Regions from separate parts of the Homo sapiens genome. Here regions 2 and 3 are each linked to region 1. The links are contacts of gene promoters, found by promoter capture Hi-C in blood cells and fetal thymus (Javierre and others, 2016). All regions are on one chromosome and are shown on one strand. The core of a region is centred on a gene start or on the middle of the fragment in contact, and the rest is flanking DNA. Distances in the headings are between cores, read along the strand shown. Region 1 holds the start of ATP6V1B2 (ATPase H+ transporting V1 subunit B2). Region 2 overlaps INTS10 (integrator complex subunit 10). Region 3 has its middle 58 kb from the start of INTS10.

Region 1 (3,223 bases), core at 338-2,837:
ATTTGTAATTTTTATTAAAAAAGTTGTTATGCATTGTATTTGAAAAAATCAGTACAAACACCTGTTAAAGCAGTGAAACTACATAGAAAGATTATTAAATTAAAAATAAAATTTCTCCTACTGTTCACATGTTAATCTACTTTACATGGCATTTTGCAATTGCTTTTTTATTTTAAACCTAATAATGTGTCTTGGACTTTTTTTAAAAAAAAAAACTCAACCCTTGAGCCTCCACTGAATTCTTTTCAAAAGTTTGAGAAATACCTTTGACTTAATAGGCTATAACTTATGAATGGGCATTTAGATTGTTTCTAGGTTTATGCTATTACAAAAATTTTTTTTGAATATCTGTGTGTATGTATATATACATGTATATGTCTGTAGACCATATATAATAATATATACCATATGGTGCATGACGTAATGTATTATATATAATGGAAAATATTTGTCACATACACTGAGTGGATAGATAGATACAGATATATCTACAGAGAGAGAGAACGATAAGTTCCTAGTACCAAAATATTTGAATGAGATATCACCAAATTGTTCTTCTAAATATCATACCAATTGTGCTCTTATCAGTAAAGTATTACAATTCCTGTTTAATTTTACACGTGCCAACTTTGGACATTAGTTAAACTTAAAAATTATAATCTTCTGGGTGCAGTGGCTAACGCCTGTAATCCCAACATTTTGGGATGCCAAGACGGCGGGATCAATTGATGTCAGGAGTTCGCGACCAGCCTGGCCAACATGGTAGAACCTCGTCTCTACTAAAAACAAAAATTAGCCGGGCGTGGCGGTGGGCACCTGTAATCCCAGCTACTTAGGAGGCTGAAGCAGGAGAATCGCTTGAACCCGGGAGGCGGAAGTTGCAGTAAGCCGTGATTACGCCACTGCACTCCAGTCTGGGCGACAGAATGAGACTCCCTCTCAAAAGAAGAAGAAGAAGAAGAAGAAGAATCCATTCCATTGCTCCGGCCTCCAGCCTGGGCTGTCATCCTACACTAGTCCCACCCCTTACACAGCTTCCAAATCTGCCCCTATTTTTCACACCGCTACGCACATCCTATAACAAGCCAATATATGTTTGTCGAATGGATACATGCGTGAACGAATTGGGTAGGGAGTAAAGTGAACTAAATGATGCCACATGTGTTAATAATCACTGAAACATGTTTTCCATTGCTTCTGTTTTTCAAAGCGGTTTTCACAGCTTGAGTTCTCTCCATTCAGCGTCACGAAAGCCCATTCGAAATGGATATCAGCTGACGTTGGCCTGCACGCGTTTGCCTTCCTCCCCTCACTCCGCTTGTGCGCCTCTCTTTCGGCTGGCTTTCCTCTCTCCTTCCATCTCCCCTCTTTCGCTTCCCTTCCCTCTGCGCCCGCGCGCGCCTCCCAGCACGCTGGTCAGCTCCTCTTGCTCGCAAGCAGGTCTGGCCCCAGCGGCGCGAAGTCACGAGGCTGGGGGCGGCCGGCGGCGAAGGGGGCGGGGCGAGGCCGGGGCGCCGCAGCGCGCATAGGCGGAGCCTCGGGCCGCGGGCCGCCTTGGTATATCTGCGCGTGCGCGGCGTCGCTGCTGGGCCAGTCGGGACAGAGGAGACAAGATGGCGCTGCGGGCGATGCGGGGGATTGTCAACGGGGCCGCACCCGAGCTACCCGTGCCCACCGGTGGGCCGGCGGTGGGAGCTCGGGAGCAGGCGCTGGCAGTCAGTCGGAACTACCTCTCCCAGCCTCGCCTCAGTGAGTATCAGAGAGTAATACGTCTCCGGTCTTTGCTCCCTAGCCTAGCCCTTTGCTCCCAGTCACCTGCTTAGCCAGCGGGTAGGGGGTAGGATTTGTTTTTCCCTCCCGCGTCTCCCCTCCGACCCTGACCCACTTGTCTCTTTAGAAGGAGATTTGCCTGTACCTAATATTTCCAGGAGATGGGCTGAGGGCAAGAGCACCAGCGGGAACTTTTTCCTGGGGTTGGTGGGCTCCTGGCTGTTGCCCTACCCCCTCCCCTCCCCAGCTTCCCTAGGCTGGAGCCTTCTTAGGCACTTGCTTCCCGTCCCCGAGGGCCACTTCTTGCCACTCCGATCTTAATCTTCCCCTGACTTCATTTGGATATCTAGGGGTCGAGGGAACGCCCCTTCTCCCCTCCCCCTGGTGAGGACCTCAATGGGGTCTTCAACTCCTGCGGAGGGCAGACGGTAGAGCCTTCGCTGACGTGGTCAGGCCTTTCGTGGATGGAGGTCAGGCCAGTAGCCAGAGGGAGATGTGGCTTGGTGTTTGGTGGAGGGGCTGCTCCGCAGAAGGACACCTAGATATCAGAGAACGCTAGAGCTGAAAAGTACCTTGCAGGTCATCCAGTCCAACCCTATCATTTTACAGGTGAGAAGCCTAAGGTTCTGGAAGGGGTAGGATTTGCCATGCTTCAGACACTTAATTATTGGCAGAGCAGGGACTAAAAATCCAGGTTCTTAAATTCTCGCTGGGCCTTTTTCTACCGTTGCCTCTTCATTTACTGACCAGTTAACCAAACTTGGTTGAGTGCAGGGTTCTTTGGGGAAGCCAGGTGGCTTTGCCCATAGGTGGTGTGTGTGCATAGGCTTGTTTAAATGTTGTGATTTTTTAAATAAAAAGGCCTTAATGAACTAGGTTTAAGTGGATAGCTCAGCAATTCCAAAAGAAATGGTTCTTGATTACTAGAGAATGCAGTTGTGTAGCATCCAACTTCTTCACAGCTTTCTTCGGAACTGGCAATGAGCCCTCGAAATAGACTTTTTAAAAAACTGGGAAAAGCACATGATGTTTCCCCAGGTGGTGAGACTGCATTTTCACTGGTTAATTGCCAGAGTGTCTGTCTCTAGGTGGCCGACTGATTAAAAAGGATTTCAGATGAAGGGTGTTAGTCTGGGCGATCTGAAGCCTGACTAATCCACATCCTGATCTGTCACTGGGTCATGTGATAGCACTGCAGTGTGAAGAAAAAGGAAAACATTTGATTCGGTGGATTGCTGAGATGTGCCTTTTACAGTAACTGGGAATTGTTCGAATTAGAAAATGTATGTTGGGACTTATCTGAGCTGAAGTAGCTACTTCAGGAAATCGGCAGATGTTGCATTCTTATGCAAACCTTGGCAATAAATTTATACCTACGAATTACAAATTCTCTTTTATTAATTGCGTTTGTATGCATTGCCTTTCTTTGGGTAGAACAGATAGACATTAGTGG
Region 2 (3,223 bases), core at 500-2,999, 360 kb before region 1:
ATATGCAAAACCTCCACTTTGAATATCAGAAAACATTTCTGAGAAAAATTAAAGATTTTTGAAAATGGACAGATCATGTTTCTATATCAGAAGATTCAATATTATTATGGTGCCAGTTCTCCCCACGTGTATCTGTAGATTCAATGCAATTTCAAGCAAAATTACAGCAGACTTTACGGTTTTTGGTGGTTTTTTGCTAGAAGTTCACAAAGTGATTCTAAAATGTAAGTGGAAATATTACATAATCTAGAATAGTCAAAACAGGTTTTAAAAAGACACAATTAAGTGACTTATACTACATAATAACAAGACTTAATATACAAGCATAATAATCAAGACAGAGTTGACAAAATATCGACATAAGAATGGAGAATCCAGAAATAGACCTGCATAGATTTGATCAAATGATTTTCGATGAAGGCATCAAAGTAATTCAATAAGGAAAGGAAAGACTTTTCAACCAATGGTGCTGGAGCAGATTACGTTGTATATGTTTGAAGTTTTCTATAACAAATGGTCAAAAAAAAAAATCTAGCCCAGACTTCTTCAAAAATTAAGTATTTCTGCAGAACAGAAAGTTTCTGGTTGAAACTCATGACCCTGTAGATGAAGACTCACAGCTTGAGAAACACTAATCTAAGGTGTACAACTAGGAGGCAAGGCATATAATTAGGTAATGACATGTTCAACTTGGTAATGCTAAGTTAGTTTCCAGAGTGGCTGCATGACTTTATATACCTTCCAGAAACTGATTAGGTGGATAGGACTGACCTAGCTGACTTCAAGACTTATTTTAAAGCTTTAGTAATTTAAGACAGGGTAGTATTGGCACAGGGGTTGACCAGTGGAACAGCATAGAAAACTGAGAAATAGATGACATTAAAATTCAGTGGGGGAAGAATGAATTTATTCAATAAGTGGTACTAGAACAATTTATTATCCAAATGTAAAAAACGACAATAAAAAAATGAGATCCCCTCCTTCACACTACATAGACATCCTTTAAATTTTAAGGTTGAAATGTGACAGCAAAAACTCCAAAACTTCCAAACTTTTAGAAGAAAATTTAAAAATAGAAAGATTAGTAAATTTGATCACATTAAAATTAAAATACCAACAAAGGCTGTTACAATCAAAGTGAAAAGATAAGGCATAGGCTGCCAGAAAATTGTCTATCACACAAAATCAACAAAAACTTAGTATCTAGAGTTTTGAAAGAGCTCCTTCAGACCAATAGGAAGCAATTATCCAATCCCCATAGAAAAATAGGCAAAGGACAGGAAGAACAGATTCACAGGAGCAGAAATCCAAATGGCCAAAAACTATTTGGAAAGATTCTCAACCTTTTGTCATATGGGCAATTCAGAATAAAACAATAAACTACCATTTCACACACATCAGAATGCAAAAATTGAAGAGGATGTGAAGGAACACAGTGCCACGTGCTTCTGGAAGGTGTATAAAGTCATGCAACCATTCTGGAAACCAACTTCCCATGACCAAGTTGAACATGTCATTACCTAATTATTAAATGTACCTCGCGTCCTAGTTGTATACCTTAGATGAGTGTTTTTCAAGCTGTGAGTTTTCATTTACAGGGTCATGAGTTTCAACCAGAAATTTTCTTTTTTAATGAGATAGAATTCAATAATATTTTAAGACGACATCTCAGACAAGAAGAGAGACTGTTATTCCATGCACCTTTTGTTTTGGATCTATCACATTATGTAAGTATGTGTGTACAGGATCCCATGTGAAAAATATTTATTTCTTGCTATCTTGCCTCTGAGTAGAGAAAGATAACAGACATAAAGAACACAGACCAGAAAGGAAAGATTGGGATTTTGCTTTGAAAGCTATTGCTTAAAGTTATTTCCACAAATGTACAAGAATATGTAAGAATGTATATTTATCATTGTAATAGTGAAAAATTGGAAATGTCAATATCCTCTGTAAAAGGAATGCAGACAACAGAATACTATATAACACTGAAAATGAATGAACTAGAGCTATGTGTATTGATATTGACCAGTTGATAAATCTGAACCACATGAAGTTGAGTAAAAAAAGCAATTTGCAGAAGGATACATACAAAATGACACCATTTATATAGTAGACTGAAAGCATGCAGAACAATCCATTGTTGTTTACGTGTGTAACAGTCATAGGAATGACAACCACTGCCTTCAGAATTATGGCGACCTCTGCGATGGAAGAGAATGGGATCAGAGAAGGATACACAATAGGCTTTAACTGATTTTGTGATTATTGATATTAGAAATGTTTAAAATTAAGATATTAACATTTCATGAAGCTGAGTGGTGAGCACACCAGTGTTATATTCTCTCTATATAACTTTGTGTATATTTGAAATGTTTTCTCATAAAAAGTATTTAAGCAAGTTTAGGAAAGAATATTGATAAATGAAATCTAGAGACCATCAAAAGCCAATTTCACCATCACAAAGTATAATTGTGTTTCAAATATAATTGAAATTGTGTGACTGTTGCATATTCTCTTTTTTGTTGTTGTTAATGAAAGCATCTTAAACAGTTGCCTTTCAAAGCTGTTATCTTTGATAATAACATACATTAACCTAACATTGTGGACTTCTGTTAGGTTCGGATCTGAAGCTCCTGCCTTGTACCAGCAAGGCTATCATGCCATACTGCCTCCATTTAATGTTAGCCTGTTTTAAGGTAAGCTTAAAGTTGATTAGCTTGAAAAAAAATGTAATTTCAAATATTATTCTCATGACTCGAGAACTTGAGAACCTTGCTAAGGATTGTTATTTTAGTACTTTTGAGGGCAGGCCCAAACAGTTAGAAAAGCACATGGGCTACTAATTAACAAATCTATATTAAATAATGACTGCGCTAGGCAAAGAGAAGTAGGAAGTTCTCCCCGTCCTCAAAAAGTGTAATAGTGGGACAGATATGCAAATAACCTTGACTGTTGTAGTGTTTGGTAAATATTTTATCAATATAAATATATTAGCTACAAAGAAAGGGAATACAAATTGCGGTTAGGTTCATGGAGGGATGATGAGTTTGTCATTGTAAAGATGTGCTAGATTAAGCATGTTAGGTGTTGAGATCAACACCAGTAACAGCCCAACAGTTGGGAAAGTTCCGGGACTTGAAAGAACGCCAAGGCCCTTGGCTACAGGTAGAGCAGAGCCTTAGAGCAGGGAGGCTTCATTGTTTCTGGAAGGTTTGTTGGC
Region 3 (3,223 bases), core at 191-2,690, 320 kb before region 1:
AGATAATCAATCAATCTATCATTCAGTCAGTCAGTCAATCAATCAGTAACTAGCAAGAAAAATTTCAGATAGTGGTGAGTGAGTACAGATATGTAATGACTAGACTGGACAGCTACTTTATGTGTTTAAGTAGACATTTTAGGCTGAGATTGTGTGAGAGGAGAATATCTTGGGCCCCCAAAATCACTAAGCTAACAGGAAAATTCAAGCTGGGAACTGCTCAAGGCAAGTCTGCCCCCCATTTCTATTCAAAGTCACTCTGCTCACTGAGACAGATGCATATGCTGATCTGGAAAGGCTTCTCAGAAACTCAAAGAATGCAACCTACCGGTGATCTGGAAGTCCCTTCCCTGCTTCAAGTTGTCCCCGCCTTTCTGGATGGAACCAACGTACTTCTTACTTATATTGACTGATGTTTCATGTCTTGCTAAAATGTGTGAAACCAAACTGTGCCCCGATCACCTTGGGTACATGTTGTCAGGACTTCCTGAGGCTGCGTCATGGGTGTGTGTGTGTCCTCAGCCTTGGCAAGAGAAACTTTCTAAATTAACTGAGACCGGTCTCAAATTTTCAGGTTTCACAACTGGAATAAGAATGATGATTATAATGATATTGGAGGAAGATGCATTCCAAGCATACTGAATTGATGGTACAAAGATGCACAACCAAACCTAGACCCTCAGTCAGGCCCCTATATCTGGAGCGAGCTCTCAAAAGGGGAGGGCAGTGGTGAAAGAGGGAGAAATCAGGCTGTGTCAGACTTAGTCACTCCACAAGTTTTGATGCTGGCATTTTTTATGTTTGTGCATACACAGGCAAAGATCTGTACATTACAAATGCTCTCTGGCCAACAGCAATGTAAGATACATCCCAATTTCATAGTTGCCAAAACATTTAAAAAAAGTATGCCTTTGAATTAATAAAATATACTCCTTTAGATGTATTGCAGGAAGTTCTTTGTTGCAGAATGTTTGAAGTCATTTTAATGGAACTCTATTTTAAGCTGTCTTTGTTCAACCTTTTGTGAAGTGAACTATCACTTTCTTGTTTTCCTTTGTTATAAATCCAGGTACTTAGAATGAAGCTCAAATATAATGAGAATGCTAGCCCAGCATGGTGAATAGATTATTTTAAGAGTAATTGGAGCACCTAAAAAACCAAGTCTAAATTGCTGAAACTGAAATTGAAATCAAATTTAAGATAAGATGCTCAGAAAAGCTTACCAACCTCACTTTAGGGTACAAAGATAAAGCTTTATCAGAGACTTTATTAAGTCTTAGTTGCTATGTAAGTTCAATTACTCAAGATAAGATGTCTAAATGCTTAGTATTAAGAGAAGTAACAGACTTACTGCTTTAAAAATAGGTGTAGATTAGGATGACTGACCTGGAACAAGAAGCTAGACTTGTCAGCAAGAAATTTGGGGATCAGATTGTTTTGTCCATTCTTTTCCTATTCCCTTCCAACTTCAGAAGCCAGAGAGATATGCCACAAGTGAGGAAAAGCTAACAAGTTTCTAGATTACTCAAAATGAATTGTGGAGAGTTCGCAAACTTGAAAATACAGGTAATCAGCCCAATATCACCTTTCCCCAGCTATCCTGGTATTTAATTCTTTGTGAACAATGCTAAGCTTTGTATGATTTTGGTTTGCTAGTACACCATAACCCTGAAATCTATTTCTAGTTGAAAGCACTATATGTTTAAGTGTGAAATGAACTTAGAGGGTAGAAACAGCCTTGTATTCTAGTTTGGTATAATACATAGAATAATGTGGCCCAAAAGGTGGGTGGAACATTTTGGGTGTACAGCTTATTTCGCCACCCAGGTAATAAGCATAGTGCCTGATAGGTAGCTTTTCAATCCTCACCATCTCCCACCTTTCACCCTCACGTAGGCCCCGGTGTCTGTTGTTCTCTTATTTGTGTCCATATGTACTGAATGTTTAGCTCCCACTTATAAGTGAGAACATGTGGTATTTGTTTTTTTGTTCCGGTGTTAGTTTGCTTAGGATAATTGCCCCCAGCTCCATCCATGTTGCTGCAAAAAACATGACCTCATTCTTTTTTTATGGCTGTGTATTATTCCATGGTGTATAAGTACTACATTGCCTTAATCCAGTCCGCCATTGATGGGCATCTAGGTTGATTCCATGTCTTTGCCATTGTGAATAGTGCTGCAATGAACATATGCATGCCTGTGTGTTTATGGTAGAACGATTTACATTCCTTTGGGTATACAGCCAGTAATGGGATTGCTTGCTGGGTCAAATGGTAATTCTGTTTCACATTCTTTGAGAAATTGCCAAATTGCTTTCCACAGTGGCTGAACTAATTTGCATTCCCACCTTGAGTTCATTGGTTTAACACAGTGTTTCCTACAAGGCTGAAGCTCCAGGGGCAGTGGAGAGAGGCTGCACTGTCATCTCGGGGCTGGAGTGGCCACTCTGACCCTGACGTCCACATACTTGCCTCCTTTCAGTGAGACCCCTCTCCTCTCTGAGGCTCAGACCTGACTCTTTAGAATTTTTATTTCTTATTTATTTTTATTGCTATTTTATTTTAACCAGTCTATTCATTAGACTTTCACCTAATTCTATTTTCAACTACAGCTTTCTAGAACATTCTGTGCAAACTCAGACTGATTTTGTATGTCCAGCCTTCAGCTAGAAAAAAAAAATCTTTCTGCATTTTTCCCCTGCTCCACTCTGGATACTTCCACACTGTGCTGCAAGGATAGCTTTTGAGTGCCGGTAATTAAGTCCCCCTAACCTAAGTAGGGGTGGGGGTCTGAGCTGGGTGGAGCCAGCAGGTAGATGCTGTCATCTCACGGCTTTCGATGGATAATTCTGGATGGCATTCTGCATGCTTCTTAGGAGATCACAGGATCATCAAGCTCTCATTGCTCCCAACCACAACCTCCCATCAGGCATACTTATATTAGCTTTCCTCTTTCCCTCTTCACTCTCCACTCCCTTACTCCTGCTTCCTGAGATCACCTCCAGTATCAGAGTTTTATTGCTGCATTACAGATTACCACCTATTTATTACCTGTATCAGATGCATTACCTGTTCTGTAGGTCAGAGGTCTGACTGGGATTGACTGGGTTCTCAGGTTAGAATAGTGCAAGGCTGAGATCAAGTCTCCACCAGGCTGGGCACTTCTCTGGAGGCTTTGGGGAAGAATCTGCGTCCAAGATTGTTCAGTTTGTTAGCAGAATCCAG

Evidence for each region. Contacts are between HindIII fragments. The CHiCAGO score rates a contact against its expected background, and 5 or more counts as called.
Region 2: a fragment that was not itself captured here is called in contact with the fragment with the promoter of ATP6V1B2 in region 1 in 2 of 17 cell types (M1 macrophages and monocytes); the score reaches 6.8 in M1 macrophages.
Region 3: a contact is called between a fragment that was not itself captured here and the fragment with the promoter of ATP6V1B2 in region 1, in 1 of 17 cell types (monocytes). The highest score is 5.9, in monocytes.

The regions. Positions count from the first base shown.
Region 1 is chr8:20,195,794-20,199,016 of GRCh38, forward strand. It overlaps ATP6V1B2 (ATPase H+ transporting V1 subunit B2), which reads left to right and starts at 1,588. Exons shown (of 14, transcript NM_001693.4): 1 at 1,588-1,749. The coding sequence starts at 1,614. RefSeq lists a silencer at 1,362-1,641. The HindIII fragment of the contact is 6,568 bases long and covers 1-3,223 here.
Region 2 is chr8:19,840,229-19,843,451 of GRCh38, forward strand. INTS10 (integrator complex subunit 10) reads left to right here. Exons shown (of 17, transcript NM_018142.4): 14 at 2,620-2,699. Among named protein-coding and RNA genes, the nearest start is that of INTS10, 24 kb to the left of the region's middle. The HindIII fragment of the contact is 1,905 bases long and covers 798-2,702 here.
Region 3 is chr8:19,873,439-19,876,661 of GRCh38, forward strand. No RefSeq gene overlaps it. Among named protein-coding and RNA genes, the nearest start is that of INTS10, 58 kb to the left of the region's middle. The HindIII fragment of the contact is 380 bases long and covers 1,251-1,630 here.